Regions from separate parts of the Homo sapiens genome. Here all the other regions are linked to region 2. The links are contacts of gene promoters, found by promoter capture Hi-C in blood cells and fetal thymus (Javierre and others, 2016). All regions are on one chromosome and are shown on one strand. The core of a region is centred on a gene start or on the middle of the fragment in contact, and the rest is flanking DNA. Distances in the headings are between cores, read along the strand shown.

The links. Contacts are between HindIII fragments. The CHiCAGO score rates a contact against its expected background, and 5 or more counts as called.
Region 1: a contact is called between a fragment that was not itself captured here and the fragment with the promoter of MARCHF3 in region 2, in 5 of 17 cell types (naive B cells, M2 macrophages, M0 macrophages and 2 more). The highest score is 8.2, in naive B cells.
Region 3: a fragment that was not itself captured here is called in contact with the fragment with the promoter of MARCHF3 in region 2 in 17 of 17 cell types (total B cells, naive B cells, erythroblasts and 14 more); the score reaches 31.5 in total B cells.
Region 4: a fragment that was not itself captured here is called in contact with the fragment with the promoter of MARCHF3 in region 2 in 7 of 17 cell types (naive B cells, M2 macrophages, megakaryocytes and 4 more); the score reaches 11.0 in naive B cells.
Region 5: a fragment that was not itself captured here is called in contact with the fragment with the promoter of MARCHF3 in region 2 in 14 of 17 cell types (neutrophils, total B cells, naive B cells and 11 more); the score reaches 19.3 in neutrophils.
Region 6: a fragment that was not itself captured here is called in contact with the fragment with the promoter of MARCHF3 in region 2 in 2 of 17 cell types (erythroblasts and total B cells); the score reaches 8.5 in erythroblasts.
Region 7: a contact is called between a fragment that was not itself captured here and the fragment with the promoter of MARCHF3 in region 2, in 2 of 17 cell types (M2 macrophages and total B cells). The highest score is 6.0, in M2 macrophages.

Annotation. Positions count from the first base shown.
Region 1 is chr5:127,276,205-127,278,904 of GRCh38, reverse strand. All of the region lies in intron 2 of LOC105379199, which reads left to right. It also overlaps a transcript of MEGF10 not described here. Among named protein-coding and RNA genes, the nearest start is that of MEGF10, 13 kb to the left of the region's middle. The HindIII fragment of the contact is 4,674 bases long and covers 1-2,700 here.
Region 2 is chr5:127,029,288-127,031,987 of GRCh38, reverse strand. It overlaps MARCHF3 (membrane associated ring-CH-type finger 3), which reads left to right and starts at 1,430. Exons shown (of 5, transcript NM_178450.5): 1 at 1,430-1,638. LOC105379163 (a long non-coding RNA gene) reads right to left here and starts at 645. Exons shown (of 2, transcript XR_007058920.1): 1 at 1-645. RefSeq lists an enhancer at 548-1,092 and a silencer at 1,089-1,468. The HindIII fragment of the contact is 7,560 bases long and covers 1-2,700 here.
Region 3 is chr5:126,832,758-126,835,457 of GRCh38, reverse strand. It overlaps LMNB1 (lamin B1), which reads right to left. Exons shown (of 11, transcript NM_005573.4): 10 at 2,657-2,700. Among named protein-coding and RNA genes, the nearest start is that of LMNB1, 57 kb to the right of the region's middle. The HindIII fragment of the contact is 201 bases long and covers 1,309-1,509 here.
Region 4 is chr5:127,250,521-127,253,220 of GRCh38, reverse strand. It overlaps a transcript of MEGF10 not described here. Among named protein-coding and RNA genes, the nearest start is that of MEGF10, 39 kb to the left of the region's middle. The HindIII fragment of the contact is 383 bases long and covers 1,117-1,499 here.
Region 5 is chr5:126,779,370-126,782,069 of GRCh38, reverse strand. The region is part of intron 1 of LMNB1 (lamin B1); the gene reads right to left. Among named protein-coding and RNA genes, the nearest start is that of LMNB1, 3.6 kb to the right of the region's middle. RefSeq lists enhancers at 1,795-1,884, 1,895-1,964. The HindIII fragment of the contact is 2,673 bases long and covers 42-2,700 here.
Region 6 is chr5:126,888,265-126,890,964 of GRCh38, reverse strand. The region is part of intron 3 of MARCHF3 (membrane associated ring-CH-type finger 3); the gene reads left to right. Among named protein-coding and RNA genes, the nearest start is that of LMNB1, 110 kb to the right of the region's middle. The HindIII fragment of the contact is 5,941 bases long and covers 1-2,700 here.
Region 7 is chr5:127,192,544-127,195,243 of GRCh38, reverse strand. No RefSeq gene overlaps it. Among named protein-coding and RNA genes, the nearest start is that of MEGF10, 97 kb to the left of the region's middle. The HindIII fragment of the contact is 1,604 bases long and covers 572-2,175 here.

The DNA.
Region 1 (2,700 bases), core at 190-2,689, 250 kb before region 2:
ACCCAATTATAACTCCTTAGTTCACTTGCTCTTCCATTCTTCTAGATGGTGACCTTCTCTCTTTTCAAACATCCAATATCTCATCTTTCATCTTCACTGTCAGTTGAAGACCTTGCTTCTCATTTCCCTATTTCACTGAGAAAACTGAAGCAATTAGAGAAGAATCTCCACAAACTTCTGCAACTACAGCTGGTCATCCACCTTCATGTCTGGTCGTGTGCTTTGTCTTCCCTCCTGATGAATTGACCACACTCTCATTTAAGGCTGTCCTCCTCACTTATGCACTAAATTCTTTCCCTTGGGCCTCCCAAATGACGTGGATTTCTCCCTGTCTTTCCTGCATTATTAATTCTCTCCTCTCAACAAGAGTATTCCCATCAGCATTCACAAATATTTCTTCCACTTAAAAAAAGAACTCTGTTTGGTTCTCCTCCTACAGCTATTCTCTTCACTGTAAACTCCTTGAATTAAATTTCTAAACTTAGTATCATATATTTTCCTTCTATTCTCTCTTAAATCTCCTCTAATCAGGGTTTTGGCCCCAACCCTCAATTTAATACTGCTCTCTTTTTTTTTTCAAGGTAATCAAATGAGATCCAATTTGCTGAAACCAATTGTCAGAAACATTTTTCTCTTCCCTTCATTGAATATCTTCCTTGACTTGATATCCTGGATACCAGACTTTTTATAGTTTTCCCTTTTTCTCTCTGGTGGCTCCTTCTGTGTTACCTTTGTTGGTTTCTTCACATCTTTCCAACCTCTAAATTTTGAAGTGCCCAGGTCTCAGTCATTGGATCACTTTTCTTTTCTAGCTACAATAACTCCATAAACTATCTCATTCAGGCTCAGAACTATAAATACCATTCCTTTACTGACCACTCCTAAATATAGATCTTCAGGCTTGACCTCTGCCCAGCTGCCTCCTGGACATCACCACTTGGTTCACAGATGTGCATCTCAAAATTAATATGTTCAAAACCCAACTCCTAATTTTCCCCCAACAGTCTGCCCTTCCCAAATTCATCCTTGTCATCTCCATCTCAGCAAATGGCATCTTTTTCCTTTCATTTGCTTATATCAAAAACCTTGGTGTCATCCTTGAGCTGCTCTTTCTCTCACACCCTCCATTCAAACTATAAGCAAATTCTGTAGGCTCTACCTTCAAAATACATTCACCAACCTACTCCAGACCTTCATCATTACCCCTGAATTAATGCAGTGGTCTCTTTATTGTTCTCCCTGTTTCTGACCTTAACCCTCCACCAACCACTCCCAGTGCCACAGCTAAAGTTATCTTGTTAAAACATAAGTTAGATCATGTTTCTCTCTTACTCTAGCCCCCATGTTCTCCCATCTTAGAGTCAAAGTGTTCACAGTGCCTCTGTTTCAAGTCTTGTTCTCCAGAAAATGGACTCTGAGATGGAGATTTGTAAGCAGGAGGTTTCTTGGGTTTGCTCTCAGGAGTAACACTTGTAAGGAAGTGAGGAAAGCAGAATTCGGCAGAAGGACCAGTGGACTGTGATACAGTTACAATAGGCCCACAGAGCTGGCCTGAATTGAGGCAAGAGCACCCAACTCCTATACTCCCTCAATGACAGTCTTTGGATGTGGTCTGCTCCCAGGAGAGAGCATAACCTTGCAAATGAAGTTCTTTTCTGTTGAAGGCAATTCCAGATGAGGAACTGAGCTAGGAGCCATCTACATCCAAAAACTCTTGCACCTGGGGAAATGAGTGCCTTGGTCCTGAAGCGCACATGGTATCCACTACTCTCAGTGCTTCTTGGTTTTATCTTCTGCTCTCCTCTTGCTCTATACTTCAGATACTTTGCTCTCCTCTTGCTCTATACTTCAGATACTTTGGTCCCCTTGCTTTTATTCAAATACACCAGACTGACTTCTACCTTAGAGCCCTTGCAGTTCCCTCTGCCTGGAATGTGTGGCTTGCTCCCTGATCTCCTACACATCTTACTCAAATTTCATCTTCTCAATGAGCCTTCTTATTCAGTATTGTAGCCCATCACCCCTTCCCCAACACACCTGATCCCCTTTACCATGCTCTACCTTTTCTTTTTTAATACCACTTTTCACCTTCTACTATCCTATATAATTTACTTATTCATTATGTTTATTGTTTGCTATGTCTTTCTCCCACTAAAATAAAAACTTCTTAATCTTTGCCTATTTTGTGTACTGATGTATCTCAAGCATGAAGAGATGTCCTCATGCATAGCAATTCTCAAATATAATGAATATATTTTAAACAAAAGTTTTATAACTCAGTAGAGGATTTTTGTTTTCCACTTGGAAATTATCTTTCCTAAGTAGGAAATTCTTTTTAACATCACAGTCTTCTGAATATGAATTTATTAAGTCACTTAATCCATTTGCCCAAACCACAGAGTTGCCCAAACACAGCTCTCAGTTGAAGCAGGCTTATCTCTCAGATTATAATAATTATCTCACTCCTGCTATAAAAGTAAAGGAAGGGAGGAGAAGCTGCACATAATGAATTAATTAATCAAGGCTTTAATTTTTCTTTAAACCCAGGGAATTCATATTAGCCTGCCTTGTTATTTACCCAACTACCCTCTGGGATATTAATACTATATCCTACGGTTTACAGCCTTAAATGGTCATGATGTGTTTACACAGGTGAAGAGCAAGTGCTCTGGCAGAGCCTTTCCTTACATTTCTTGTACA
Region 2 (2,700 bases), core at 181-2,680:
CTAAAACCCTTAGGACTTCTGGGACCTGAATGAGGCAATGGTCTGAAGTGGGCTTGCGCTGGAAGCAAGACGTAAGTGGTGAAGGTGAGTATCAGGGCAGCAGGTTGACCCCTTTCTTGTTATGAGCATGCATTCCTTCATTCTTACTAATACGGGTTAGGTGCCTACCCATGGCAAGAGCAGTTCTAGGCAGGGAGAGGCCCCTACCCACCCACAGCTGACGGTCTAGGGCTTGTTTACATTCTAGGTTTCAGCGGGAAAGCAAGAACACCCAACTCCCTGCTTTTGATTCTATGTTAGTAGCTCAGCGCGCCTGTGCGAGCACGTGCTGCAGCCAGGGTAGGGGCTCAGAAACTGGTTGACAAGATGAGCAGTGGGGTCCTAGGGGGTTGGGCGGGAAGGGCCCACAAGGCCATATTCCAGGCTGTTCGGCTGCGAGTGACCCCTGAGAGGTCGGGATCTCCGAGCTCGTCCGATGTCTCCATCCCAGCCAGGAGCTTGCGAAGGGGAAGGAGGGCGGAAGCAGAGTGGGACAGATGTGGTTCGTTCTGGGGCTTCCTGTCCACGAAGATGGATAATTCTAGCGACCCGCCTGGGATTTTGGAATCCTGGCGGACCCAAAAGACAGCAGAAGTCACCGCAGAGGATGCCACCCCGCACGGCAGCCCGCCCAGAGCGACGGTCTCACAGGTTCCGGCGCCGTCGAGCGCCCAAGCCTCCTGTTGGCCGCCAGCTGTGTCCGCGACGCGCTGGGTCGGGAGGAGGAGACCCGAGGCGCCGGTAAGTCCCCCGCTGCAGGTGGCCCGGAGGGCAGGGGTGAGGACGGGGACGTGTACTGAACTTTGGGAGGTTTGCGGGGCTGGAGTTTTGTTTCAGAGATAGCCAGATCGAGATCAGAACGTTTTCCAGAGAGCCCAGGTTTCCACTTGTGGCTGGGCGACCCGGTCCGGAATTCATCCTTTCTCGGCCCTCAGCTTCCTCCGGGCGGGGTTCCGATGGGGCAGCTAAGTTCCGCGCCTCCTGCCGGTGCCAGATACTGGCGTGTCGACCCGCGCTGCGGTTGGCTTCTTGCTCCACAGCGCTATGCGCGCGGCGGCTCCGAGGGCTCCTGGTCTCTCTCAGCCAACGGCCTTCTGGGGCCGCCGCCTCCCTCTAGAGCTGCTCGGGTCCCATTGCAGAGAGTCCCGCAGCGCCCGCCGGCAGCCACGGCACTTCGCAATAACCAACTTCCCCGCCGCCGGCGCGTCCCGCCAGCCTGCCCTCGGCCGCAGGCGACTGGACGGCGGTTACGGGGCGGTCCCAGCGCCACCACGACTGGCTGTCGGCTCCGCCAGTCATGGGCTGATGACGCCCCGGGGCTGGCTCCGCCCCTAGCGGCAGCCCCGCCTCCCCTCCAGAGCCTGGTCGGCTTAGCCCTGCTTTCCGCCTCACTCGTTGAGCAGGTCCGTGAATTGTCAGCGCGCTGTGGGCGACTGTGTGGCCGCGGCGGCCGCCAGGCTTGCCGCACTCCCCCTGAGGTGCCCGCCGGAACCAATGTGCCCTGGTCCACTGGGCCGTGAGCAGCCACCGACTGGGGGCAACTTGGCACTTAGAACCGCAGCAGGGACGTCGGTTTGCTATCGGGACTCGGCGAGGACGGTGAGTGGCCGCGCGCCGGGCTAGCGGCTCCTCTCGGCGCGGTTCGGCGGCGGCGAGAGGGGACGGGACGCGTCCTGGCGCTCGGCGGTCCGTTCGTCCGAGCGTGACCGCTGTGGGGAGGTCAGGGCTGGGCGGGATTTACTCCGTGCCAATATCCCCACTCCCGAACTTCTTCTTGTCAAAGCATCCCAACTCCGCCCGGGACGCGGTTCCAGTCCGCACCAACTTGGCGTAATTGACATGGGTAGGTGGGGCCGGGACGCGTCCCCTGCCCCTCTGCGGCAACGACATGGAGCGCTGGGGCGGCCTCCGCGCCCGCGGCGTGCGGACCGCGGTTCCTGAAAAATTACCCGCGCTGTGCGGTACGGTAAGACCCGGCGTCCGCGTCTGGATCTCAAGGCTGAGCGAGCGCTCATCGGGCTCAAGGTGGGTCTCAGCGCCAGAGAACTGGAGTACCAGCCGGGTTCTGTAGCGGGGGCTTCAGTGCTCTGCAGCTACTGAGAGGAATTGAGAGCACTGCTGGGCTTTGAACTTTCTAAAGTAATTGCTTTCTATTAGCACTTGAATCCATGACCCTCCTGAGGTGCTCGGACCTCCACATCCACCCGCAAGGGGTGTCCGAAGGACTTCGTTAGGACCAGGCGGGAGCTGCTGTCGGTTCTGGTGCCCAGTGCCTTGGAGAATCCTAGAGGCTGCGAAAGGGATTGCCAGCCTGGTCGGTTGGTGTTTGTTTGAGCACCTGCGTGTTTAAGTGATGAAGTTGAGTCAGGAATTGACAGCAGAGAACTCAAGGTTAAACCTGACACTCCGTTTGTGACTCGGTCTGGGTTAGATTGTTTTCCCCCCTTAATGGTAAGGGGGTAAAAGCAGCTTGTTTTTCTGAGACCAACTACATGCATGTAGTTTATATTATGTGCGGAATAAACAGAATTCAATACGATATTTTCTTACAATTCTTATTTGACATGAATAAGAGCTTTTGAAAATACTAGACAGAAACAGGTCCAGAATTTGGGGATGTTTAGACCTTTGAAAATACATGAAAATGTTGAGATATATAGT
Region 3 (2,700 bases), core at 160-2,659, 200 kb after region 2:
TTTGTCCTCCAAGGTGAAGTCAACATGGCTCCTCTACCCATTTCTTTATCACTCATTAATTTCATATAACCTCACAATATGACTTGTGACTCACCACTGATTGAACTAAAACTGGTTTTTTGAAGGTCACCAAAATATTTCTAATCAATTCAAAAGGCGATTGGATTCATCCTCAAATATGAAGTTCAAACGCCTGTTCTGCCCTTCCATCTTCCCTCTTATGAACCTTGGTATCATTAGTTTCTGTGATCACAAAAGCTAAAAACCTCATACATCTTTATTTTTTTTCTTCTCTCACCCTCAAGTTTAGTCACTAAGCCTTAATAAATTTCCATTATATATTCCCTCACTGCCTCTGGAATCTCCTCTCTAGAGTTAGTCCCTCTGATTCAGCTTGGCCAGTGATATTTTAAAATGCAGTCTTAACTTCTCCTTTGTTCCAAATTGTACAGAAGCTACATCCCTAAGCATTCCAGACTATGTCAGTTTAATTCCAATCTTTCAACTTCATTTAACTCTCACATGAACCCTACAAAATAACTGGATGAGCGGATATAGTTGGTGCATTAAGTCTTTTTTTATGAGGCAGAGTCTCACTCTGTCACCCAAGCTGGAGTGCAGTGGCGCCATCTCAGCTCACTGCAAGCTCCGCCTCCCGGGTTCACGCCATTCTCCTGCCTCAGCCTCCCGAGTAGCTGGGACTACAGGCTCCCGCCACCACGCCCGGCTAATTTTTTGTATTTTTAGTAGAGACGGGGTTTCACCGTGTTAGCCAGGATGGTCTCGATCTCCTGACCTTGTGATCTGCCTGCCTCCCAAACTGCTGGGATTACAGGCGTAAGCCACCGTGCCCGGCCACATTCTTTACACATCCTCTGTAGTGAGTTAAAGATCACCATGAATTCTTTGCCATTCCTCCCACCAACAGGTGGAGACTATTTACCCCCACTTTGAATCTGGACTGGCCTCATGACTTTGACTAAGAGAATGTTACAAAGGGCCCTTTAAGAAACCTGGTACTCTCTTGAGATTGAGATTGTCGTGGCCAACATGGTGAAACTCCATCTCTACTACAATATAAAAAATTAGCCAGGCGTGGTGGCGCATGCCTGTAATCCCAGCTACTTGGGAGACTGAGGCAGGGGTATCTCTTGAACCTGGGAGGTGGAGGTTGCGGTGAGCTGAGATTGCGCCACTGCGCTCCAGCCTGGCGACACAGCAAGACTCTATCTCAAAAAAAAAAAAGAAAAAAGAAAGAAACCTGTACCCTCCACTTACTCTGTTAGACAATTGCCATGCTATAAAGCTTTGACTAAACTCTTAAATCATAGAAATCCACACAGAAAGAGACCTAAAAGATATTCCAGCCGAGGCCAACCTCTGAGCTGAACACAGCCTGCTCGATTGAGTTCAGTCTGCAGCATGTGGAACAGAAACACTGCCCAGCTGAGCCCAGTCAAACCACAGAATTATGGGAAGTAAGAAATCACTGTTTTAAGCCACTAAGCTTTGGGGTGGTCTGTTAGTGAAGCAATGGTGAATTCCAACATCCTCAGAGCACCATCATCTGCCTTCTCTCCAATAACCAAATAATCACCCATCCTTCAAATTAGTGGACAAGCATCACCTCACAGAGTTCTTCTCAACTACTCTGCTGGCCTGGAGTACCTCCTCTAGCATCTGACATGCTATATAACTCATGCTGACCCTCTTGTCTGGTGCCTTGAGTTATCTCTTACATAATTATTTTACTTCTAGTAATTACGATGGTTCCCATTGAAGCACAGAAAATGGAACTTGTGCTTGTTTCTTGTAAGTTAAGTGTAACATATGTGTTTTAAAATATTCCTCCAAAATGTATGAGAAGGCATCCAGGTAAAAAATTCATGCTACTTCATGCAACCCACCTCAAGTGGTTCTCAACCCTGGGGGTTAAATATATGAGACAGTGTTTATTTAGACCAGGACTAGGGCTAATGAAGCAAAGCAGACTTAAGACTAAAAATCTGGAGCCATGGAAACAAAGTCTTATCAGGATAAGGGTAGACACTTTGATTAATGATCGGACTCAAACAGCTTGAGAATATAAACTGAAGGCTCATTAGTTATTAATAATTCCAATTTAATTATAATTAAAACCAAATTTGGAGTTTCTTTATTTCAAGGGCTCTCAAAAGCCCAACCATCAGCCAAAATCTATCTTCAATTAGATAATGATTAGGAACTTAATACAGCAAGAATTTTGTTTCACACTGAAGTTGAATATTACTTTGTTTTTTTAAAGTTTATATGCAGATTCTTGCTCTAAATTAGTGATCTAAACCTTTTAATCATAGGACCCTACAGAGTAAACAAGTTTGGAGTAAACATCCAATCCATAGACATGTTTTACTGTAACACATAATGCACATTAGAAAACAAAGGACAAAACTGAAACTTGGTACAATGAGAAAAAATAAAAATAAAAGTGCCAACATATTCTTCCAGTACCCTAAAGTATCACCTTGAATATCCCTTTGGGGAGTACAAACCCCACTTGGTAGATAACTGCGCTGGTTCATCAACTGATAGGGGAAAAACCCAACCACACTCTTGGTCTTCATGTAATTCTGTGAATAAAATTTGAAATAAATATATTAAATAAATAAAGTAATACCTGCTGGTGGAAAAGTTCTTCCTCAACAACCACTCCAGCTGCTT
Region 4 (2,700 bases), core at 59-2,558, 220 kb before region 2:
CAATAAATTTTTTTTAAACAAATAGATCAATAGGTGGAAAAGTCACCTCTAGACAATCACATGCTTTGTCTCTTTTAACCTATGAAAAGCATTAATATTTGTCAAAGTGTTAAATCACTTTTGCATTTTTAGAAGAAACAGTACTTCGTTATTAACTGGATTTTTCAGCACTTTATTTTAAATGTTTGTATCCGTGTTTATGAGTATGAATTGTAGTGTTGTGTTATCCCTATGTTATCTTTGTCAAATTTGGCTTCATGATTATGCTAGCCATATTAAATGAATTAAAATTCATCACTCTGTCTCAAAAAAAAAATTCATGTCTTTGCGCTGAAACAGTGCTAAAGTCATAGGAATTAGATATTAAGAGCATTTGTCAAGAAAACAACCTGCCTCCTGGTCTTTCTTTGAGATCTTCAGTAGCTATTCTTCTATTATGTTTCATTGTCCTTTATTATACAAGATGTGTATAAGTGGACTTTCATCATAGAAAGTTAAAACTATACCTAATTGAAAAGACTAAAAATGCAGTCTGTCTCTCTCACCCTATCCCACCCATCCCCAGAGTTAACCACAATTAACAATTTAGTACTTTTATTTTCATTATTTTTCCTACACCCTCACATATTTATATGTAAACACAACGTGCAAGTATATGTGCATTAATACATGTGTAAAGAATAAATAGAGCTATTCTGAAACTACTCTTTCACTTATTCCTTGAAAAGCTTTTCACATATATATTATAAATGATATGAAACTATATGTACTTCATCCTTTTTAATAGCTGCATAGTATTCAACATTATGGCTTTACCATACACTCTTTAACTACTCTTCTACTATGAGTATTTGGATGTTTCCCTCTTTTCACTATCATGAACAAACCTGCCATGATCATTCTTGTACATAGACTTTTAGGCCCACTGCATGCAAAATATTCTTCAGAATAAGATCATAAATGTGGAATAACTAAGTAAAAAAAAAAGGCAGTTTTAATCTTAATAGATAGTAAAAAAATTTTCTCCAAAAAGATTTTGTCTTCTTATCCTCCTACCAATAAGGTATCATTGTGTTAATCTATCATATCCTTACTAACCCTGGGTATTATAAAGCTTCTATAATTTTGTTAATCTGATTAGTGAAAATTGATTAAAATGTATCACATTAATTTACATTTATCTGATTACCAATGAGGTTGAATATTTTGTAGGGTTTATTGAACATTTGTATTTCTTTTTCTATAAATTGCTTTTTAATATCCATCATTCATTTTTCTATTGGAGGGATTGTTATTTTCCTATTGATGCTTACTGATATTAATCCTTTGCTAATATAATGCAAATATATATCCAGGCTGAAGGTTGTCTATTATGTTACTACGTCTTTTGCATGCAGAAGTTTCCTTTTAAATTTTAATGTATTTAAATATTTGATTATTTTCCTTTATGGTTTTAATGTTTTATATCTTACTTCGATAGGCTTTCTTTACCCCAAGCTTATATTTTTTCTGCAGCTATGTCTAGTACTTTTATGTTTGGCTTTTTGGGTATGGTTTAAGGCATATGTCTAAATGTATTTCTTTCAAAATGGATAACCAATCACCCCTAACTGTATTGCTTTGAAAATGGATAACCAAGCTTCACCCTAATTTGTAAAGTAATTCATTTTCCTACTTAATTGTTTGCCATTTTTATTATTAATAGCAGCAAGCACTTACGTAGTTCTGACCACATTTCAGGCACTCTTCTAAGTGCTTTCTGTATATTAATGTATTTAATCTTCACAACAACCATAAGACGTAGGTAGTATAATGATCCCTCTTTTACGCATAAGGAAACCAAGGCACAAAGAGTTTAAGTAACTTCAAGAACGCACAGCTACTGTGTGGCCTGGCTTGAGATCCAGTGCTCTTTACTATACTAAACCCTGATGTGCATACTGCTCCTCCTAGATTCCATCCAATCTTATTAACCAATATCTCTGCCTATACCTGCGCAAACCCTATACTTTTATATTTTCAAATTTGTTTTAATTTTTGAAAGACAAGTTTCCCTCATTTTTTCTTCTAGGAGTTTTCCAGGTTACTTGCTATTTTGTCTACCATTTGACCAATAAAATAGCATGTTAAGTTTCATAAATAATGATTAGGATTGCATTACATTTCTAAATTAACTTGAGGAGGACTGATATCTCAACAAAAATTGTCTTCTGTTTAGAAAAGTCCTGCATATCTGCATTATTGGATTTTTTTCTATATTTTACAGTTTTCAACATATGAATCTTACAACTGTTAGGGTTTTTTATTATTATTGTAAATAGGTTTTTTTCTCTGTTTCATTCTTTAGTATATTATTGATAATATATAGGAAAGCATTGATTTTTTTCTATGTTAATTTTGTATCTGTCGTACTGAATTTTACTGATTCTAATAATTTTTTCAGATAATTCCTTGGATTTGCATGGCAATCTTTAGTTTCCAAATAATTATATCTGTGTCTTTTCTTTATAATATTTATGTGTCATGTTATTCTTTTTTGGTCTGTATATATTTGCATTGGTTAGAGTTAGGACCTCTATTACAAGGTTAAAAGACAACAGTTCTGGCAGCAAGTTTATCTTGTCTCTAACTTTAGTAGGAATGTTTCTAATGATTTACATCACACATGGTGTTTGTTCTTGTTTTATGCTAATCTTTATT
Region 5 (2,700 bases), core at 129-2,628, 250 kb after region 2:
CATTCATCATCATTTTTGGAAACTGTTCTCTCAAAAAAGCTTTCAGCAAAATATAATCAGTCTTGGACTGAATCAAAGTAACTGTACCTTACATATGAGGTCTGTTTTCTATGGATTCAGACACCACCTGCATGGAAACTGTTGCCAAATTCTCTTTAGACCAAGCATTTCCATGCTCTGCCTCTAAGGTATCTTGTTTGCTGAGGAACCAAAAAGAAACTAAGTAACCTGGAATCTATAATTCTCTCAAAGCTGTTTTCTTAATCTAAATCTACCTAAATGATGATTATACTTAATTACAAACACTCTAGTTCCAAATAAAAAATTAAATATAGGCCAGGCATGGTGGCTCACGCCTATAATCCCAGCACCTTGGGAGGCCGAGGTGGGTGGATCACCTGAGGTCAGGAGTTGGAGACCAGCCTGGCCAACACGGTGAAACCCCGTCTCTACTAAAAATACAAAATTAGCCGGGTGTGGTGGTGCACACCTGTAATCCCAGCTACTTGGGAGGCTGGGTCAAGAGCATCGCTTGAACCTGGGAGGCGGAGGTTGCAGTGAGCCAAGCTCCGTCTCAAAAAAAAAAGAAAGACATTAACAACCCTAGATGCCAGAAGACAATAGGGCAAAATAATACTTTCCAAGTTCTGGAAAAATGTTAACCTAGTATTCTATACCTAGCCCAAAGCTATTTTCAGACATACAGGACTCAGAAAGTTTACCTCCTGCCATCCTTTCTGAATAAATTACTTAAGGATGTTCTTCAACAAAATATGAAGAAACCAAGGAAAAGGAAAATACACCCAGGATGGAGTGCGGTGGTGTGATCTCAGCTCACTGCAACCTCCGCCTCCCCGGTTCAAGCAATGCCTCCTGCCTCAGCCTCCACAGTAACTGGGATTGCAGGCGTCCACTACCACACGCGGCTAATTTGTGTATTTTTAGTAGAGACGGGGTCTCGCCATGTTGGACAGGCTAGTCTTGAACTCCTGACTTCAGGTGATCCACCTGCCTAGGCCTCTCAAAGTGCTTTACAGGTGTGAGCCACCGTGCCTGGCCAGGAAGCTGTCTTTAATAAGTTACAGGACATCAGTACACAGCCTACCTTAAGCAAAGAGAACTCTAGGGAAGAAAGCAGATTCATGTGATAGATATTATGATTAAATATCTTCAAAAAGTCTGCAAACACACTGAGGGCAAATTTTTCTTAACAAGAAAAATGAAAAGCTATTGAGGAATAAATCCATATAAAAAAAGTCCTAATTCAAATAAGGAGCAAACTAAAATGTGGCATGTTTTGAGCAAATGATGGTATGTTGGGGGGAAAAGAAGAGTCATCTAATCCTGGCAATAGGAATATACATACAGTAGCACAGACTTAAGAAAAATATAATCCCAGAACACTACTAACCCTCAGAGAATAGGTACTGTCAACTCCTCAGACAGGCCTTCCTTAATCACACTAACCCTTCACTCCGCTTTATTTTTATTCCCTTAGCATCTGCTATTACCTAAATTGTATCACATGCATTATTTCATTGATTCTAATACACATTATTCTCATTTTTTAACCCCGCTGAAACCAGCATGCATTTTAGAATCGATACATTTACAACTACTGTCAGCCAGGTGGCAGCCTTGTTACTGTGTGAAAAACCTCCTGTGGCTAACTCCTGGAAAGATTACAAAAGCGCCAGCATCAAAATGCTTCACATCAGACAAAAGACAATCTTTCTTTACTTGCTGGGATATAGCTCCCCCACTACACTCTCAGCAACAAAGAACAGTAATTCATTTTTTTAAAAAAATCTTCATATCCTCTAACATAGAACGGTGACTGGTACGCAACAGATATTTGATCTGTGTTAATTTTTTTTTTTAGACGGAGTCTCACTCTGTCACCCAGGCTGGAGTGCAGTGGACCATCTGGCTCACTGCAGCCTCTGCCTCCTGGATATCAAGCGATTCTCCTGCCTCAGCCTCCCCAGTAGCTGGGATTACAGACGCCCGCCACCACGCCCGGATTTTTTTTCTTTTTTGAGATGGGGTCTCACTCTGTCGCCAGGCTGGGGTGCAATGGCGCAATCTCAGCTCACTGCAATATCCGCCTCCTGGGTTCAAGCGATTCTCCTGCCTCAGCCTCCCAAGTAGCTGAGACTACAGATGCATGCCACCACGTCTGGATAATTTTTTGTATTTTTAGTAGAGACGGGGTTTCACCTTGTTAGCCAGGATGGCCTCGATCTCCTGACCTCGTGATCCGCCCGCCTCGGCCTCCCAAAGTGCTGGGATTACAGGCGTGAGCCCCCGCGTCCGGCCAATTTTTGTATTTTTAGTAGAGACGGGGTTTCACCATATTGGTCAGGCTGGTCTCGAACTCCTGACCTCAAGTGATCCGCTCACCTCGCCTCCCAAAGCGCTGGGATTACAGGCGTGAGCCACCACGCCCGGCCCTGTTTGACATTTTAATATCTATGAAACCCATCATGATGGGTCCAACAGGATGGATCCTACACAGTTGGTCCTGATGTTTTTATTTTCTTAGTGGTACACATAATAATGGCAAGTCTTACAAGCAACGATATCTAAGATTTGAAGGAATTCAGTGGCAAAAAATTTGGAGGAACATAGAAATAATAGTGTGAGTTAACTGACTGCTCATTTTAAAAGATGAAACCAAGGCTTAGTAAATCCAAGAAA
Region 6 (2,700 bases), core at 28-2,527, 140 kb after region 2:
AAAGTCAGGAAACAACAGGTGCTGGAGAGGATGTGGAGAAATAGGAACACTTTTACACTGTTGGTGGGACTGTAAACTAGTTCAACCATTGTGGAAGTCAGTGTGGCGATTCCTCAGAGATCTAGAACTAGAAATACCATTTGACCCAGCCATCCCATTACTGGGTATATACCCAAAGGACTATAAATCATGCTGCTATAAAGACACATGCACATGTATGTTTATTGCGGCATTATTCACAATAGCAAAGACTTGGAACCCACCCAAATGTCCAACAATGATAGACTGGATTAAGAAAATGTGGCACATATACACCATGGAATACTATGCAGCCATAAAAAATGATGAGTTCATGCCCTTTGTAGGGACATGGATGAAACTGGAAAACTTCATTCTCAGTAAACTATCGCAAGAACAAAAAACCAAACACTGCATATTCTCACTCATAGGTGGGGATTGAACAATGAGATCACATGGACACAGGAAGGGGAATATCACAGTCTGGGGACTGTTGTGGGGTGGGGGGAGGGGGGAGGGATAGCATTGGGAGATATACCTAATGCTAGATGACGAGTTAGTGGGTGCAGTGCACCAGCATGGCACATGTATACATATGTAACTAACCTGCACAATGTGCACATGTACCCTAAAACTTAAAGTATAATAATAAAAAAGAAAACATACCATTACCTCAAAAAAAAAAAAAGTATGTCTTTTCTGAAGACAAGTCTGTGAGTTTTATAGCAAAGTGATCTACAAACATTAAACATAATCAAAGGAAGTAAGACCAGCAAAATAGAGAACATTGCCCTCTGCTCAGATAACACAGCGAGGTGTCTTCACCTGGTAATCTGATATTCTGGGCCCCATACCCAGTGAAAGATATCCAAAAAGTCCAGGGGAGTGGTTAACACAGATGCCTGCACAGAAAGTGAGAGATATGAGGATGCTACTAATCTAGATGTGAGGATGCTACTAATCTAGATGTGAGGATGCTACTGAGGGACATGTCTGAAATCTTGAAAATCATGAACAGCTTAGACAATGTGAACAGGGAGTGCCTCACACATTCCAAATTACTTAAATGGTGGTGGGATCCCTTTGAAATTCAAAGACAGAGTTTAGAACAAAAATAAGGAGATACCACCTCCATCGTGGTGCATGAACTTAAGCCGCTGCCTCAAGTGGAGCCTTGAATGATTCCTAATCCATTAGGTGCTAGGATGTATCTAATGTCAGCCAAGTCAGCCAGGCCCTCGTAAATATGTGGGGCCCTTTTAGGCAGCAAAACATTGGACTATAGGGACTGCAAATCCAAGAGTTCCTCTGTTTTCATGGTCCTTCTATTTGGAAGAAATTTCCCCTTTTTCAAAGTGTTCCCATTCTTGCTTACTTTGGGAGCATGTGGTGACATTGTCTGCTCTGTCGTCTGTTTTCCGTGTGCATTGTATTTCCTTGAAATCCCTCCACCATACTCTGCTTGGATAGTTTTCTTACTCACATTCTCACTACACCTGAGGGACACAGATATGTAAGTGTAGTACCATTTTGAAAACCTGGTTTTGAATGTTATTTTTTCCTCTCTATTCCTTCAAACATCCCTATTATCAAAATAGGAATTTATTGTTCATATTCATGTTATTTATCGTATTCTCATCTTTTGTCTGGTGCTCCAGTGGGGGCTCTTATTTGGTACACTGTCCTGGTACAGTGTATCCCATGATCATGTACTTCTGCTGGAAGTAATTATTCAAATGTTCAGAAACCCAGACTCCAACAGCAGTCCAACGGAGTGGTCATTAGACACCAGTAACCTTCCAGTCTGGGGGCCAGTAAGAATTAAAATGAAGCAAGATCAGGGGAATGAGAGCTGCTATTTGTGTTTAAAAAGACCATACAGGGCCAGCCACAGTGGCTCACACCTGTAATCCCAGCACTTTGGGAGGCCAAGGCGGGTGGATCACTTGAAGTCAGGAGTTCAAGAACAGCCTGGCCAACATGGCAAAACCCCATCTCTACTAAAAGTACAAAAATTACCCGGGCGTGGTGGTGCATGTGTGTAATCTCAGATACTCAGGAGGCTGAGGCACGAGAATAGCTTGAACCTGGGAGGTGGAGGTTGCAGTGAGCCAAGATTGTGCCACTGCACTCCAGCCTGGGTGACAGAGCGAGACTCCATCTCAAAAAAAGAAAAACCACACAGTATGAATTTATTGTTCCCAAAATAAATAATATCTACTTTTGGCACTATGCATTTTATCAATTTATTCTAAAAACTTCTGTTTCCTTGCTCTCCATTCTGTCTTGGTTATCTCATGTTTCTTGCTTTACATTGATCAGATATGCCACATAATTCTGAAGTATCTTCTCATATTTCAGATAAGCAATCTCCATTTGGCTGTGATCACTCCTATGCTGTAATGATCTAAAATAATTAGAGATTATTTTTATTTTGTGTATGTCTGAAGTTACAAGTGAATATATAAAATGATTTGCCATCTAATCCTGTTGTGCCACTGATCTAATCCTTGGAAAAATAAACCATTGGTGTGAGTGTGTGTAGCATTTGTTTAAATAATGTCAGAGCCAAATTACAATGTCCCAGGCATAAGCATAGTATTTATGGAGCATTATAGCCCGTTAATTGGCTTATTGGCCTAAGTCCTCCAGGGAGCATCACAAATCTCCAGGGTGTCCTTG
Region 7 (2,700 bases), core at 124-2,623, 160 kb before region 2:
TTATGCTTTTTAAAGCGATTTTCCCACCACCATTACAGTAATGCAGTATTTTGTATTTGTCCATATATTTACCTCTACCAATGAGTTTCATACTTTCTTATGCTATCATACTTCTATTTGGCATCCTTTCATTTCAACTTTAAGAACTCCCTTTAGCATTTCTTGTAAGGCATGTCTGGTGGTGATAAACTTCCTCAGCTCTTGTTTACCCCTGGAAAAGCTGTCTTCACCAGACAAACAAAAGCTGAGGATTTCCATCACACAGGTAATTTGTCTACGAGTTGTTGCTGGATTGATGTGTTTGTAGGAGAAGACGGGTCCAGGGCTTCCTACTCCACAATCTTGCTGACATCAGTTACTGTATATAGGTTTCTGAACAGCAGAAATATTGAAGGAAAAAGAAATATTCTCTCCAAGAAATAAAAAGGAAAAAAATGGAATTAGGTTAAGTAGAAATAGCTTAAAGTTAATGCTTATATAATCATTATACCCAGGTTAAATTATCATTCATATTAAGAAAATCAATATTTACTTTTCAAAATAAAACAGTATGTTTGAAACGGAGAAAGCTTGTTTAGTTGACCATAAATTTTTCTTGATATGCAATGCTATCCAGCTTCTCTTTCTTTTCCTCACTCCCTCCATGATTTTCTCCTCCATAAGGCCAACAAGAAAAACAAAAAGGAAAATAAGAATATGCCACAGCTATGCTTTCCCAGTAAGGCTATGCTGGTTTTATTTGCATGGGTTTATAGTGAATGTTCCAATAATCAAATCAGAGTGCAGGCTTTCAAAATCTTTCATTTCTAAACTCTGAGCAGAGTAGTACATCAGTTAATAAAAGAAGAGCCTTTTTAAAAATTGCACAGTACATTTTAGTTTATAAAATACTTTTATATTTTCTCATTTCAACCTCAAACCAACTCAATTTAAATAGCTACTTCAAGTGTTCATTTCTAGCTTTTTCCTGCATGGAATTCATTCCTTTATTTCTTTTGGTAATAGACCTCTCAATTTTCCTTTGATGAGGCACCTCCCTGCCCTTTGCAGATAATTTGGGTGAGACTGACTTTATTCCATCCCCACATCTAAGTCTGGATATGTTTCTCAGGCTTGGGCAATCAGTGTAGTCCACTTTCTTGGCCACGGTGATTGTTGAGAGACAAATACATGACTTAAGTCAGTCCCATAGACTAAATTATGGGATTTTCCCAAAGTAGATACAAGAGGCAGGTCACAGAAAGAAAGTAAGAAGGTGCTAAAGACTACTGTGATCAAATCTACCATTTTTCCAGGAGCCAGTACTCTGGACTTTGGGCCTACCCAGGGTAACCAGCCATTTCAGTTGGCTTTGCACTGAGGTGTCTCTTAGGAACGCTTAAACCAGGAAAGCCCTGGACAAACTGGGATAAATTGTTTACTCTACCAGTCACCACAGTGCCACGTAAAGTAAGAGCTTCACAGCCTGGAAGGGAGATCAAAATGTTTCTTCCTTACCAAGGAAGACCAATGGTTATCACCCTCCCCTACTCCAAGAGAATAAGTATCCAAAGTGCCAGGCAACAATTTTAGAGAAAATGAATCTAGCAGTGACCATTTCCCTTATTCTATTCAATCCTTAAATGTTTAACCAAAAAAAAAAAAAATCTAAGATCATTTTTTAACAGCCTCATTTTTCAATTATCAAGTGCTAAATTAAAATGGAATGCAAACACTAAAATTTAACACACTGCTAAAAATGTACATGTCTAAAATATTAATAGCAACTCTAAATGATTTATAATGCCCTCTTGGGCATATTTTATGATTTATTGATGTCATTTTAGTGGCTCTATGGGCGACAGAGTCACCTCACTGTGTGTGTGCTCCGGCGGGTTTCTGGGCTTGTTACTCAGTAAACTACACACTCAGACCTTTGCCGCATGCACATGAGATGATAGGTGAAGTAGAAAAAGTAAAGATGTTAAATTTTTCCATAAATCAAAGAATCCTAGGGCTAAAAGGCTTTAAAAGTGGTTATTTCTTGTTTTCTCAACTTCATGCAGGGCCACACTGGGGCTATCTTCAATGGTTGTGAATTTCACAACCTCCCTTGTTGATTTATGATATCAGTCTTTGTCGACAAGAAATGCTACTTTGGAGCTAATGTTTACCCTTTCTGTATCAAGTAAAGCTTGTTTTCTGGAGAATAGCTCATAACATTTTTGGTAGTTAACTTCCTGTCTTTGACCTAATCATGCATTTTTCAAATCCTTCTGTTCATCCCACAGACATGATTGCTCTGCCCTCCACGCTATGATTTGCTTCTAGTTTCTCTGCAAGCTTCCTAGGACTCTCTCAGATTCTGCTACTCAAAATTTGCTCTCAATGAAATTGGGTTTGTCTTTTTCTTCTTCCCTGGACACTGTCCTCCATCTCTCAGCTGTTTCTCCCTTCCCAGAAACCTAAAGCTCTGATTCTGCCCTCTGGACAAACAGACCTTCTTTCCTTTCATCTTCCTTCCACTGTCAGCCACACACACCCAAGCAGTAGCCACACAGGCCTATGCTTCTGGGAAACTGCCCATGCTCAAAGTTACTATTCCATAGTGGGTGCAGTGGCACATATCTGTAGTGCCAGCTACTTGGGAGCCTGAGACAGTAGGATCTCTTGAGCACAGGAGTTCGAGGCTATATTGTGCTATGACCACACCTGAGAAGA